2 separate regions of the Homo sapiens genome follow, and region 1 is linked to region 2. Evidence: promoter capture Hi-C in human tissues and cell types (Jung and others, 2019). All regions are on one chromosome and are shown on one strand. Each heading gives the region's core, a stretch centred on a gene start or on the middle of the fragment in contact. The rest is flanking DNA. Distances are from core to core; before and after follow the strand shown.

Region 1 (7,042 bases), core at 429-2,928, 1.4 Mb before region 2:
GTCCTGATGCTCTCCCTCCTCTCACCCCCCACCCGCCGACAGGCCCTGGTGTGTGTCGTTCCTCTCCCTGTGTCCATGTGTTCTCATTGTTCAGCTCCCACATATGAGTGAGAACATGCAGTGTTTTCTATTCCTGTGTTAGTTTGCTGAGGATTATGTCTTCCAGATTCATCTATGTCCATGCAAAGGACATGATCTCATTCCTTTTTATGGCTGCATAGTATTCCATGGTGTATATGTACAACATTTTCTTTACCCAGTCTATTATTGATGGGCATTTTGGTTGGTTCCATGTCTGCTATTGTAAATAGTGCTACAGTAAACATACCTGTGCATGTATCTTTATAGTAGAATGATTTATATTCCTTTGGGTATATACCCAGTAATGGGATTGTGGGGTCAGATGGCATTTCTGGTTCTAGATCCTTGAGGAATCGCCACACTGTCTTCCACAATGGTTGAACATTCCCACCAATGGTGTAAAAGCGTTCATATTTCTTTGCAGCCTCGCCAGCATCTGTTGTTTCTTGACTTTTTAATAATCCCCATTCTGACTGGTGTGAGATATGAATACTTTTTTTAACAAACTTTTTTTTTTTTTTTTGACACAGTCTCACTCTGTCACCCAGGTTGCAGTGCAGTGGTGCAACCATAGCTCACTGCTGCTTTGACCTCCTGGGCTCAAGAAATCCTCTCACCTCAGCCTCCCAAGTAGCTAGGACTACAGGTGCATGCCATCATACAAGGCTGATTTTTTTATAGACATGCGGTCTCAGTATATTGTCCAGGCTGGTCTCTAACTCCTAGATTCAAGTGACCCTCCTACCTTGGCCTCCCAAAGTGCTGAGATTACAGGCATGAGCCACTGCATGCAGCCTTATCCAACTTTTTATTGTGAAATTCTTTCAAACATACAGCAAAGTTGAAGATTACTTTTTCTATTTTTGTTTGTCACAAGATCTTAAGATAAGGATGTGTTTAATATGTGACAATACATTTTTTGAAATGCTATTTACTTGTTTATATCATCCTTATATCTCAAATTTATTTAAGTTTTTAATTAACCAAGGTTTATAAACCCTATGTACTGTTGTTTGTTTAGTCATTCATTCTTTCAGGAAAACTTTTTTGAGCTTCAGATATATTACAGGTGTACTGCCAGATGCTAGACCAACAAAGCTTAATAAGTAGGGTCTCTGCTCTGGGGGGCAGAGGGGAAGAAGGTGGCGATGGTGGGGAGGGAGTCTCTTAGTCTTGTAGGGAGAGAGGCATATAAAATCCTCTGGCCATAATAAATGTACTTCCAATGACTTAGTTTACATGTAATACTTTATTTTAGTTTTAAATTTAAACATTTGTTGATTAGAATTTAAATTAGATGTGCAACTCTTCCCATTTAAGGATGGTACTCCTGGCCTACTATTGTCCTTGGGCCCGATGGGATACAATTTTAAAATAGATGACTAGGGTTAAGAATTATTGCCTAATTGGCCGGGCACAGTGGCTCATGCTTGTAATTCCATTACTTTGGGAGGCTGAGGCAGGCGGAACACAAGGTCAGGAGATCGAGACCATCCTGGCTAACATGGTGAAACCCCGTTTCTGCTAAAAATACAAAAAATTAGCTGGGCGTGGTGGCGGGCACCTGTAGTCCCAGCTACTCGGGAGGCTGAGGCAGGAGAGTGGTGTGAACCCGGGAGGCAGAGCTTGCAGTGAGCTAAGATCGGGCCACTGCACTACAGCCTGGGCGACAGAGTGAGACTCTGTCTCAAAAAAAAAAAAAAAAAAAGAATTATTGTGTAATTACGCCACTTACAATTAACTTTATGGTGGTGTCCTCAATGGCAAAGTCATTTACTTAGCGTAGCAATTACTCATTTTGACCCACTAATCCCAGACTTTTCTTGTCTGGGCACGGTGGCTCACGCCTGTAATCCCAGCACTTTGGGAGGCTGAGGTGGGCGGATCACAAGGTCGGGAATTTGAGACCAGCCTGACCAACATGGTGAAATCCTGTCTCTACTAAAAATACAAAAATTAGACAGGCATGGTGGCACGCGCCTGTAATCCCAGCTAGTCAGGAGGCTGAGGCAGGAGAATCGCTTGAACTGGGGAGGCGAAGATTGCAGTGAGCCGAGATTGCACCACTGCACTCCAGCCTGGGCGACGGAGCTGTCTCAAAAAACAAACAAACAAACAAAACCCCCAAAATACACAAATCCTTTACAATTGAATTCTTGCTTTTTTAATTCCTTTCTCAGGCTATAGAAAATAGGAAATATTTTATTGTGTTTATTATTTAGTTCTTTAAACAATTATTTGCATTACTATTAGATATTTGAATCTTGAACTATGCAACCTTTAAGAATGCATGATAGAGTATGTACTTTAGATGGAGTTGCTGGGTACCATTAAATTGAACGTATTGAGAGCTATGGGTATTAAACAGCAAATTTTCACTATTCTGTGTTAGTAAGCAAGATAGGGTAAGAAATCATCAGGACTTACTAGATTTGACTCACAACCACAGAGTCATGGCTGGATGGGGCCTTAACTATCTTTAGGTATTGGGTAAAACAGTATAGTGTAGGGATTAAACACATAAACTCTAAGCTAGACAGGCTGGGTTCAAATCCTATCATTATTATTATGCTATGTGATCTCAGGCAAGTCACTTAATCTCTCTTTTTTCTTCATCTGGAAAATGAGACTAAAAATAATTCCTACATTATAGGGTAATTGTTAGGCTTTAAAGAGTTAAGAAATAAAAAGTACTTAGAACAGTTCTTGACACATAGTAAGCACTTAAGCATTGGCTTTAATAACTATTATTATGATACGCTGTTCAATTCCGTCCTTTTAAATTTGTTATTTTTAGCATAGGAAGAAACTGAAACTCAGGATGGTTGCATGACTTGACGAGGGTACGCAAGCTATTTGTGGCAATGCTGGGACCAGAACCAATTTTCTTTTAATTTATTGTTTAATAGACTTTTTTTTGAGTAATTTTAGTTTCATAGTAAAATCGATGGGGAGGTACAGAGATTTCTCATATACCCCCTGCCTTCACACATGCACAGCCTCCCCATCATCAATATCCCCCACCAGAGTCATATATTTGTTACATATGATAAGCCAACTTTGACATATTATTATTACTCCAGGCCCATAGTTTACATTAAGGTTCACTCTTGGTGTTGTGCCTTCTGTGGGTCTGAACAAATGTATGACATCTATCTGTCACTATTGTATTATACAAAGTAGTTTCACTGCCTTGAAAATCCTGTGTTCTTCCTGTTCATCCCTCTCTCTACCCTAAACTCTTGCAAACAATGAGTTTTTGCTGTCTCCATGGTTTTGCCTTTTCAGAATGTCATATAGTTGGAATCATACAGTGTATAGATACGTACAGTGGATAGAAGGCAATCTTTTCAGATTGGCTTCTTTTGCTTAGTAATATGCATTTAAGTTTCCTACATGTCTTTTCATGGCTTGATATCTCATTTCGTTTTAGCACTAAATAATATTTCACTGCCTGGATGTACCATAATTTATCCATTCATCTACTAATGGGCATATTAATTTCTTCCAAATATTGGCAATTATGAATAAAATTACTGTAAACATCTGTGTGTAGGTTTTTGTGTGGGCATAAGTTTTCAATTCCTTTGCATAAATACCAACCACTGCAATTGCTGGATTGTATATGTGTTTAGTTTTGTAAGAAACTGCCAAACTGTCTTCCAAAGTGGCTGTACCATTTTTCATTCCTACCAACAATGAATGAGAGTTCCTGTTGCTCCACATCCGCATCATCATTTGGTGTTGTCAGTGCTGTGAGTTTGGGCCATTCTATTACATGTGTGGTGGTATGTCATTGTTATTTTTAATGTGCATTTCCCCAATGACATATAATATGGAGCCCCTTTCATACGCTTATTTGCCATCTGTATATCTTCTTTGGTGAGGTCACTGTTAAAGTCTTCTGCCCATTTTTAATCAGGTTATAATATTTTCTTACTGTTGAGTTTTAAGAATTCTTTGCATGTTTTAGATAACAGTCCTTTATGAGATGCATCTTTTGCAAATATTTTCTTCCAGTCTGTGGCTTGTCTTTTCATTACCTTTACAGTGTCTTTTGCAGAGTAGAACTTTTTAATTTGAATTAAATCCAGCTTATCAATTATTTCTTTCATGGATTATGTCTTTGGTGTTGTATCTAAAATAGTCATTGTGAAACCCAGAATTATCCAGATTTTTTCCTATTTAGGAGTCTTAGAATTTTGCATTTTACATTTAGGTTTATGATCCATCCATTTTGAGTTAATTTATGTGAAGAGTGTAAAGTCTGCGTCTGGATTTATTTTTTTGCATGTAGACGTCCAGTCGTTCCGTCACCACTTGTTGGAAATACTGTCTTTGCTCCATTGTATTGCTTTTCCTTTTAAGTCAAAGATCAGTTGACTATACATATGTGGGCCTTCTCCTGGGCTGTCTATTTTGTTGCACTGATCTGCTGTGTCTATTCTTTGCCAGCATCATGCATTCTTGATTACTGTAGCTTTATAGTAAGTCCTGAAGTCTGGTAGTTTCATTTGTCCAACTTTGTTCTTCTCTTTCAATATTATGTTGGTTATTTTCAGTCTTTTGCCTCTCCATATAAATTTTAGAATCATTTAGTTCATATCCACAAAATAACTTTCTGGGATTTTGATTGGGATTGAATTGAATCTATAGATCAATTTGGGACAGAACCAGTTTTTAACTTCCACTTTAGGATCTTTCTACAGAACCAAATTGCCCCATGACATATCAACACATGAAGCAATTTAATTAAATAACTTTATAACTTCCATAGTATGGTAGTCAATTACAATGATTTCTTCAGACCTTATTGTCTCCAGTCCCAACTAGGGAAAGTATATCTTGAATTCCAGTAAGTACTAACAATGTACTACTTATTGTGCTTTGAATCTAGTAAAATGTACAGATATGGGAAAAGTTTTGAGATGTTGTACATTCTTCTTCTTCTTCTTCACCTTTTTTTTTTTTAATTTGAGATGGAGTCTTGCTCTGTTGCCAAGGCTAGAGTGCAGTGGTGTGATCTTGGTTCACTGCAGCCTCCACCTCCTGGGTTCAAGCGATTCTCCTGCCTCAGCCTCCTGAGCAGCTGGGACTAGAGGCATGCACCACCACCCCCAGCTAATTTTTGTATTTTTAGTAGAGGGGGTTTCCCTATGTTGGCCAGTCTGGTCTCGAACTCCTGACCTTGTGATCTGCCTGCCTCGGCCTCCCAAAGTGCTGGGATTACGGTGTGAGCCACTGTGCCCGGTCTCATTTTTCACTTAAGCCAAAAGATTTGTTTTCCTTTTAAATTTAGCTCTCAGGTTGTTTTTTAGAAAAGAGCCTTCATGGTCCTTTATATTCCTTTTGATTCCTGCTGGTAGAAACCAAATACGTCTTCTCCTTGAATAAAAACAAAATGAAACAAAATAAAATACCTAGAACCTTATTTTAAAAATTCAGAAAATACAAATATCTAATTCAAATCCATCTGTCAAACTCTAAGTTTTATGTGTTTTTTTAATTGACATTTTTCTTAATACATTTTAATAAAGCTTCGGAGAAACAATAGGGCAATAGTAGAAAAGCAGAGCTGCCAGGCCAAATAGTGAGGAGGAGATACATGCTGGTACCTTGGGCACACTAAATATATTTTGGAAAAGTTTCTCTACAGACAAGTGACCTGAAGTAGGAGACTGTTAAATCATTTTTAGTGTGTGTCTGTCTCCTTTTAATCATCCACCCTTGGGAGGGTGATATACTACTGCAGCACTAGAGAGGTTGAATTGGTGGATTACGATGAGACTAGAGTGGTCTGGACTCTTGGTTTCTTACTAGAAATTTTCCCAGGATAGCTTGTATAATGTATAGGTAGATATTACATTCTAATGTCTGTGCTGTAGGTTAGCCACCCTGAAAATAGCTAAAGCAATATTGATCTGTATTCTAAACATGACCCAAAATTTATTTGACATTCTTAAAGATTTTTGTGAATAAGGTGAAGAATCGGTTGATCTATAAGTTATATATTGAAAGTTATTTAATTTTTAATTGAAAACTGATTTTTTTTAAACAAAAGAATTGAAGCTGTTGTTTCAAGGTAGTTTTGTTTATGCAGAGGGACATATTCTAATTTTTGAAGCATGTTAATACACAAAACCACATAAAAAGGATGATTTTTACAATTCATATACTTAGGATTATTGTTGCCCAAACGCAGGGTTTGAATAAGTCAAATGCACTTATATTTTTTATTTGTGTGTAAATATTTTTTAGAAAATTTTACCTCTATTATAATGTTCTTAAGTCCCATCTAAATGACACATAGCCAAACTGTATAGAAATATATTAAGGAAGGTGGGTGTCTAGATAGATAATAGTGCTAGAAGGAGATATGACTCGTCAAGCAGAGTCTAGTTTTTAAAAATTCGGGGACGAGGAGAGTGGCTTAAAACTATTTCTGTTTTCTGATGTTTGTAATTCTATAGCTGCAAATATATCACTTACAGGAGAAAGGGCACCTAGGAGTGGGGAAAGTGGGTGGGAAGCATGTGATGGGGTGAGGAGTATAATAACATCATAATTTTGGAACTAGAATATAGAAAAAATCTGGTTAGAAGTATCAGACAAAGAAAAACTGTTTTTTTTCTCTTTTAAGGCAAGTTTATTTAGAAGCATTGATTATTTTTATTTTTCCCTCCTAATAAAAGATTAAGGGTAACTGCTGTAGTTTCAGTCCCATATTCTATGAAATATCATCCTGATTGTGATGGTAGCTTCTTATGGGATTTATTTCTGTTGTTGTACCACTATGTACTATACGCATTGCACCTGTTCACACAGAGTACATTGCATTGTGATGTTTGTACAGCTAGATGCTTTAAATGAGAAGCCAATCTCCCTTCTTCTAGGTTCCTAGCCTATTAGTTACTTAATTAAGCTTAATTCTGTTTTGGTCTGTAATTTTGTAAGTCTGCAA
Region 2 (6,749 bases), core at 1,527-4,026:
CAGACAGGACTAGTTAGGACTTCCAGACCACATAAGGAATTCTCCTTACGTGGTGCAATGTCACCTGGTCACTGAAGTAACACTTCCTTTTTTTCTTCCCCTCTCCTCTAGAGATCAAGGAACCTTATTATGGAGAAAATTAATGGATAAAACTACATATATATATCTACAGCAGGCATGATGACATAAATATATCAATACATTAGTCTATTGTCCAGTATGGGTCGTAAGTACGAAATGCTAAAATGGTAAATCCACAAGAGATAGTAGTAATCTTCATTACTTGGGGAAAGCAACATCTCCGAGGTTATGTTTTCTACTAAGGAGCATCAATAAGCTAGGTTATGTATTTTGCACTTACTATAAAAATACTTTGTTAAACTGCTGCTATTGTAGAATTTTAACTTTTTATTCTCCTTAACAAAATAAGACCGTTTATTGTATAGAATTTGGAAGACACAGAAAAACAAAAATAAATCAGTCACATCCACCAAAGATGATTCCATCTTCCTCATTTTCCAGCAGTCTTCTTTAATTACCTTAGTTAGAAAACTACAAGATTTAACTGAGCATATAATTTTTCATATTAAGAAAGGTGTAATTTAAATTTTAAAAATCAAATTTGTAATATTCGTAAGACCTTCAATTGAAAAGCAGCATGGAATTTTCTGAGTTTGCAGTATAAATAAAAGAGTTTAACCACAAACTGAAAAACATTCTTCCCTAAAGCACATTGTTTGGGATCAAAACATTGGTAATAATACATTATGGACGGAATGGGAGTACTTGGGTTGGACAACACCTGTATTTTCAATTGGACAACAATTTCTGTATTTTCACAAAATACTATTCATCAAAATCTGAAGAGGGCACCGGGAGTTTTACAAATGGGGAAAGCTAAAGAGGGATACAAATGCTACTTAACCTAAATTTACCACAAAGCCGATCAAGGAATAGATTGGGAGTGCCAATTCAGTAGTATTTTAGGGGAAAATGACAAAAAGGGAAGGATTGACGGCAGAAAACATGTGCAGACAGCAACATCTCGACTTGATTCTACCTTTAAGCATATGGCCAAATCAATTTGGTTTAACTATTTCCAACCCAATCAGTTTCTTATTTCGGTTTCAGGGAACCCTACTCACTCTTCCCTAAACCAGCCTGGGCCTCCTGCACACCACAACACCACAATACCATCTTTCAACGCCTCCTCATTCAATCGAGACTGTCGCATTACTAACACCTCCTGTTTTGAAGACAGTATTCCTTCAACTGTCCTCTCTGCAGAGAAGAAAAAGTAAAAGCCCTTCTTTTACTTTTCTAGTCCCATCCGAAGCACGTGAACATCTACGGAACCTTCCCTGCAGGTATGTCAGATAAAATCCTTAGAATCACTGAGAAAGCACATTCGGAGGGAAGCTTCACAGTGACTCTGCAGTGAGGGCCGTATCAGTGACAGTCCCTCCCAAGCCTGTCTCACCGGAGACGCCTCTGCCTCCAGGGTTTTTGCTACCTCCCCGCTCCTCAGCCCTGAGCTGAGGGTAAGGACAGTGAGGACCTTTGCCAAAGAATGGGCTTTAAGGAATGGGACCTAATGTCTACTGCAGACCCTGTGAAATGGCTGAAACAATCTGCTACCCGAAGCCCCAAAGGCTCTGAGTAGGGAACCATAATGGCCGCACTCACTTCCAACCCTGGGAAAGGTGGACATCTGAATCCCCAAGTAGCGGGAACGACCACACTTGGGGGAGCGGGGGTTAAGGAGAAATGAGCTCCTTGCCGGTGCAGGGTGACAGCGGGGAGGAAGCCTCAGGCAGAAAAGTCGCCGTTCACACTCTCCCTTCTCTCCTTCCTCTGCCTCCTTCCACCCCCTCTATCCCCACCACTCGCCAGTTACCGGTCGCCGCTCACCTGCTGGGGCGCGAGGTGCAGAGACTGTACCGACCGAGGACCCAGAGGCTGTCACCACGGAGGGGAAGTCCTCAGCTGCACAGGTTGGGGGGGGGGGGGGGGGCGGGCCCAACCAGTCACATGACGTCGAGCTCCGCCCTGCCTCCTCCATCCCAGCGCTCTACATCTCGGGGGGCCTGAATTTTTACGGATCCCTTGAATATTAATTTTCTTGGATTAAAGAAATAAAAGATAAATTTTCACAAAGAGTATGTTATAAAGTACAATGTGGAAAATGTGGACAGCAAGAGTTAAAGCGCATTGCTAAGGAAGTGACGTTCACGCCACAATCGAGGGACAGGAAATGGCGGTGGCGTTCCGTCCCTCTGGAGTCCGCCGGTAAAATTCCAGGCTCTGAGGTTTGGGCCAATCACGTGATCTTAAAACTTGAGGCGTGCTGGAGGGTAGCCAATCTATCTGGCCGATTGTTAACTACGTTTGTTTTAAAACACCTAACTTAAACTTGAGCTTTCCACAGATTTCTTTACATTTAGAAGAACTAACTTTATAAAACCCTACTAGGAGGCAACAGCGTTTGAAGGTCACTCTGGAGACCACAAACTGGGAAGAACGGGGCTGAGAAAAACTATCTTGCGGATATGGGACAAGAGAGGGAGGGGTGGAAAAATCTGGATTTTACCGCCAGGGCCTACCGAGCCAGCCCCACAAGCAGTGTCGTAAGCGGGTGGGAGGGAGGAGCATGACCCCAGAAGGCCCAGTCCAGGAGAAAGATGGAGGTTCCGGAGTGGAGGGGGCAGGGTGCGCGGAGGCGAGCAGTGCGGCTGCGCGTGAGGCGGCGGCGCGCCGGCGCGCGAGGGGCGGGGTGAAAGGTCACAGCGCGGCAGCGGGTCTGGCTGGCGGCAGCGGCGGGAGGGAGCCGAGAGACCCGAGTGCACGTGTGGAGAAGCGGCGGCACAAGCGCGGCGGCGGGAGACACTCCCGCCCCCACCAGACTCAAGCCCTCACTCGACTCTCGCGGCCTTCGTTGCTCGCACAGCTCCCTGCCCAGGCTAGGAGGCCGGCTTGCGGGGTTGAGTGGCCCGAGCTAAGGGTGCGGAGACCTAAGGGCGGCGACTACGACGGCGTTGATATCGGTGGTAACGACGGCCTCAGCAGGCGGGGAAGATGAAAGGGTGAGGAAGGGCAGCCGGGCAGGGCCCGGCCGGTGGGGTAGAAGGGTCCGGGCCCATGTAGAGGGGGAGAGCCGCAAAGGCGAGGAGAGATTCAGGGCGAAGACGGGCGGAGGGAGATTTCTCTGCTTCTCAGTTCCCTCGGCTCCCGGAGGGGGCGGAGGCGAGGCTCGGGCTGTTGGCGGGCTGAAGGGCCAGCGGAGGCAAGACCCGGGGGGCTTCAGGGTTTCGGTTCGGAGACGAGTGTGGGTTGTTGAGTGGGGAGAAGCGACCGAGTGGGGCAACATGGAAAGGCTATTGTGAAGCGCCCGGGGCCTCCTTCCCGGGAGCGGACCGCTGAGCCACGCCGGCCCGCAGCTCCAGGTGGAGTGGTTTGGTTGTCTTCCACCTCCAGACTCAACTCTGGAACTGCGGTGTTTGACACCTTTCAGTTTAATTCACGCTTGGGAGCTGTGCAGAACCTTCTGGAGGAAGAAGAAATTGGAATAAAGAGCACGGGGATGAGTATTAAGAGCTAGTGACTCAACTAGATTTGGGTTGGGTCACAGCGAGTGGAGGAGGGGGAGAGAGCGCGATCACTGTAGACTTGGGGTGCCAACATATTTAAGGAAGTATAGGGTGGATCAGTAGGTGGAGCTGTTGCTTCAGTAGTTCACTATTGCCCCTGAGTGCTGAGGCGGTCCTGGGTAGTTCTACCACGCTGCTCCTTTCAGGTGATTGGCAAAGTTAATGTTCGGTCTTTCACCGTTTGCCTCTTACGTAAAATTAGGAATTATTTTGGATCGACTGGTTAAGTTTTTATGAAATGTCTCCTTACCATTAAGTTGTATAGTTTTAATGTATTAATTACGTAACATTTTTCCGAAGCATTGTCTCAAGCCGTTTTGGAGCTTGTCTTTACCCTCAAAGAGATGAAGCTCATAAACGTTAAAAAGCTCTCTGCGATGCCATAGTTTGTTGTTGTAAGTCGATTAAGAAGTCGTAACTATGTTTTAAGTTAACGAAGTCATTCCAACTATTCAATAGCACTTTTGAGGATGAAATAAAAGTCACTTTCAACGTAATCTCATACTGCCCCAAACAAGGACCTAAATATTACCTCTGTGTATCGGTATTTGAGGTTCCTGAAGAGATTCCAAGAAAGTTTAATTTGGTCTTAGGTCTGTAACATGTTTCCTTACTTTAATTTTCCTTTAAATACTGGATATTTATTCTAATGTTGAATTGTATGTTTTGTACTAATAATCTTTAAAGTTTAAGAACCATGAACTATTCACAGTACCTGCATTGTTTCACATCAAGTTGTAAAGAGTTCCAGTTAGGGAAATATAATTGACGGGTATAGGAAGTATTTGCTCCACTTGAATCATGATCTTGGAAGTTTGGCTATTTCAGATACAATCCAACATATTTGGAGAATGTTGTTTTTCTGCTATACTGCACTCCTTTTGTTTTGTTCTTTTCATTTTTTTTTTTTTAATGAGGCAGGGTCTGGCTCTGTTGCCCAGGCTGGAGTGCAGTGGCGCTATCTCGGCCCACTGCAACCTTTGCCTCCCCAGCTCAAGCAATCCTCCCGCCTCAGCCTTCCGAGTCGGTGGGACCTCAGGCGCGCACCACCACGCCTTGCTAATTTTTTGTATATTTTGTAGAGACGGGGGTCTGACTATGTTGGCCAGGCTGGTCTCAAACTCCTGAGCTCAAGCGATCCACCCACCTCTGCCTCCCAAAGTGCTGGGATTACAGGTGTGAGCCACTGAACGCGGCATATACTGCACTTCTTGAACATGGTTGCTGACTCTTACTCATTTTTGTACTCATTGTCAGGCACTCAGTACTTGTTTGTCATGTTCTGTTAAGTAAGAAAAATGAGGCTGAAGAGTTCCCAGTGTTGAAATTGCCATGGATTTACGAAGGGGTTGCCAGGAAATTATTCTGTATGTTTAGATCCAAAATCTTCAATCTAGTTCAGTCTCCATAGGCTGTGATGTTCTTTCTGATACATAACTTGGCGATAGAAATGAAGCTGAACAGTCATATTATTCACAATCTACCTTGAATTAATATATTCATGGAGCAATTATCTCTGTTTAAAATGGGTATTTACATGTAACCTGATGAAGGCAGATCCCTAGAAATAACTGGCCGAATTTAGAGGAAACTTACAACTATTGAATCTGTACCTTTATGCCAGTAACTATGCCAGTGAAGTTCCTATTACTTCTTATGATTGGGAGCTTAGAATTGTGTTCTTTACTGTAAACCTTTAAGATGATTTCACAGGAATAATCCCTTTAACTTAACAAATGAACTAACTCCCAGATGAGATGAAACTTTTTAATTTTTTTTGCTTCTAAGTCTGTATTTAAGACACTCAACAAATGAGTTGTGTGAATCTTACTTGTGCTTGTTCGGATACTGAACCTACAACAGTATAGGTTTAAAATAAGTTAAGCGCCTTGAGTTCCAAAACTTGTACCACAGTGCACAGTGTGGTCGATTTTAAAGTCCTGACTCTTAATTTGGAATGGCCTGTAAAAACGAAACAGTGGTCCTGGTTATGTGGCTTTTGTATGAAATTTTATTTGCTAAGTATTCTATTGTATATTGAGGTAAGTAAACAGTAAATTGAAATATCTAAAATTGGAAACTGCGGAAGTCCCAACACGAAGCCAGTCAAATATTTAAAATTGTACACTGTTGCCTATGTTGCCTATCATATTGAAACTTAAAACTTAGCTGGTTTTTCTTCATATTTTTACCATGAGTATTTTTATTAGTAGTAGCAGTAGGACTTTCCATTGTATTGGCATGTCTTTCCTCCATAGAAGATAAATTTCCGGTTATTAACTACTGAATGTAATTTATATGCACATGTAGAAGTTTGAGATATACTAGGAAATGTTGCTTACTTTTGAGGTTGGCTGTTTTTATGAACCAGGGACATTGTAGTTTGAATTTGTGGGTGATATTTTTATCTGTTCTTCTCTAGGGAAGGCGATTTCAAGCAAGAAGGTATGCCACAGATAACCATGACTGAGGTGGCAATGTAATTAGGCAGTGTAATGGAAAGTATAATAAAACCAAATCATTTAGCCTTCAATTGTAGTAAAGAGGTGCAAATTAGTTCTAATAAAAAATGTCTTTAACAAAATGTGAATACGTGACTAAGATGGGAAAGTAGGTAGCAGTAATATAAATATGGAACAATGTTGACTACTAATTGGAATAGTAAAGGGAGCCATTTTACCAAATAAAATTAAAATGTAAGATTCTGCAGTCAGAAACAAAACTTTAAAAACTCCGAACAGTGGTTACCTCTGACAGCATATGGACTGGGAAGGGGCAAAAGGAATGCTTTTTGCATCTCAGCATAGTGAGACCTTGTCTCTACAAACAATAAAGCAGCCAGGAGAATCACCTGAACCTGGCAGGTGGAGGTTGTAGTGAGCTGAGATCGTGCCACTGCATTCCTGCCTGGGCGACAGAGTGAGACTCTGTCTCAAAAAAAAAAAAAAAAAAGCCAGGCATGCTGGTGCAAGTCTGTAGTTCCAGCTACTTGGGAGGCTGAGGCAGGAGGATCACTTGAGCCCAGGAGTTCAAGGCTGCAGAGAGCCATGATCTTGTCACTATATTTCAGCCTGGGCAACAGAGCGAAAACTGGTCTTAAAA

Evidence for each region. Contacts are between HindIII fragments. The study calls those that stand out against the background at their distance.
Region 1: a contact is called between a fragment that was not itself captured here and the fragment with the promoter of NAA50 in region 2, in 1 of the 25 tissues and cell types used here (hippocampus).

What each region holds. Positions count from the first base shown.
Region 1 is chr3:115,100,980-115,108,021 of GRCh38, reverse strand. The region is part of intron 1 of ZBTB20 (zinc finger and BTB domain containing 20); the gene reads left to right. ZBTB20-AS4 (ZBTB20 antisense RNA 4) reads right to left here. Exons shown (of 2, transcript NR_046877.1): 2 at 4,961-5,466. Among named protein-coding and RNA genes, the nearest start is that of ZBTB20-AS4, 4.1 kb to the right of the region's middle. The HindIII fragment of the contact is 9,266 bases long and covers 1-6,311 here.
Region 2 is chr3:113,742,276-113,749,024 of GRCh38, reverse strand. It overlaps NAA50 (N-alpha-acetyltransferase 50, NatE catalytic subunit), which reads left to right and starts at 2,776. Exons shown (of 5, transcript NM_025146.4): 1 at 2,776-3,083. The coding sequence starts at 3,076. It overlaps ATP6V1A (ATPase H+ transporting V1 subunit A), which reads right to left and starts at 1,990. Exons shown (of 15, transcript NM_001690.4): 1 at 1,912-1,990. RefSeq lists enhancers at 2,033-2,402, 1,724-2,459, 2,460-3,195, 3,443-3,592, 3,196-3,932 and a silencer at 2,753-2,872. The HindIII fragment of the contact is 9,566 bases long and covers 601-6,749 here.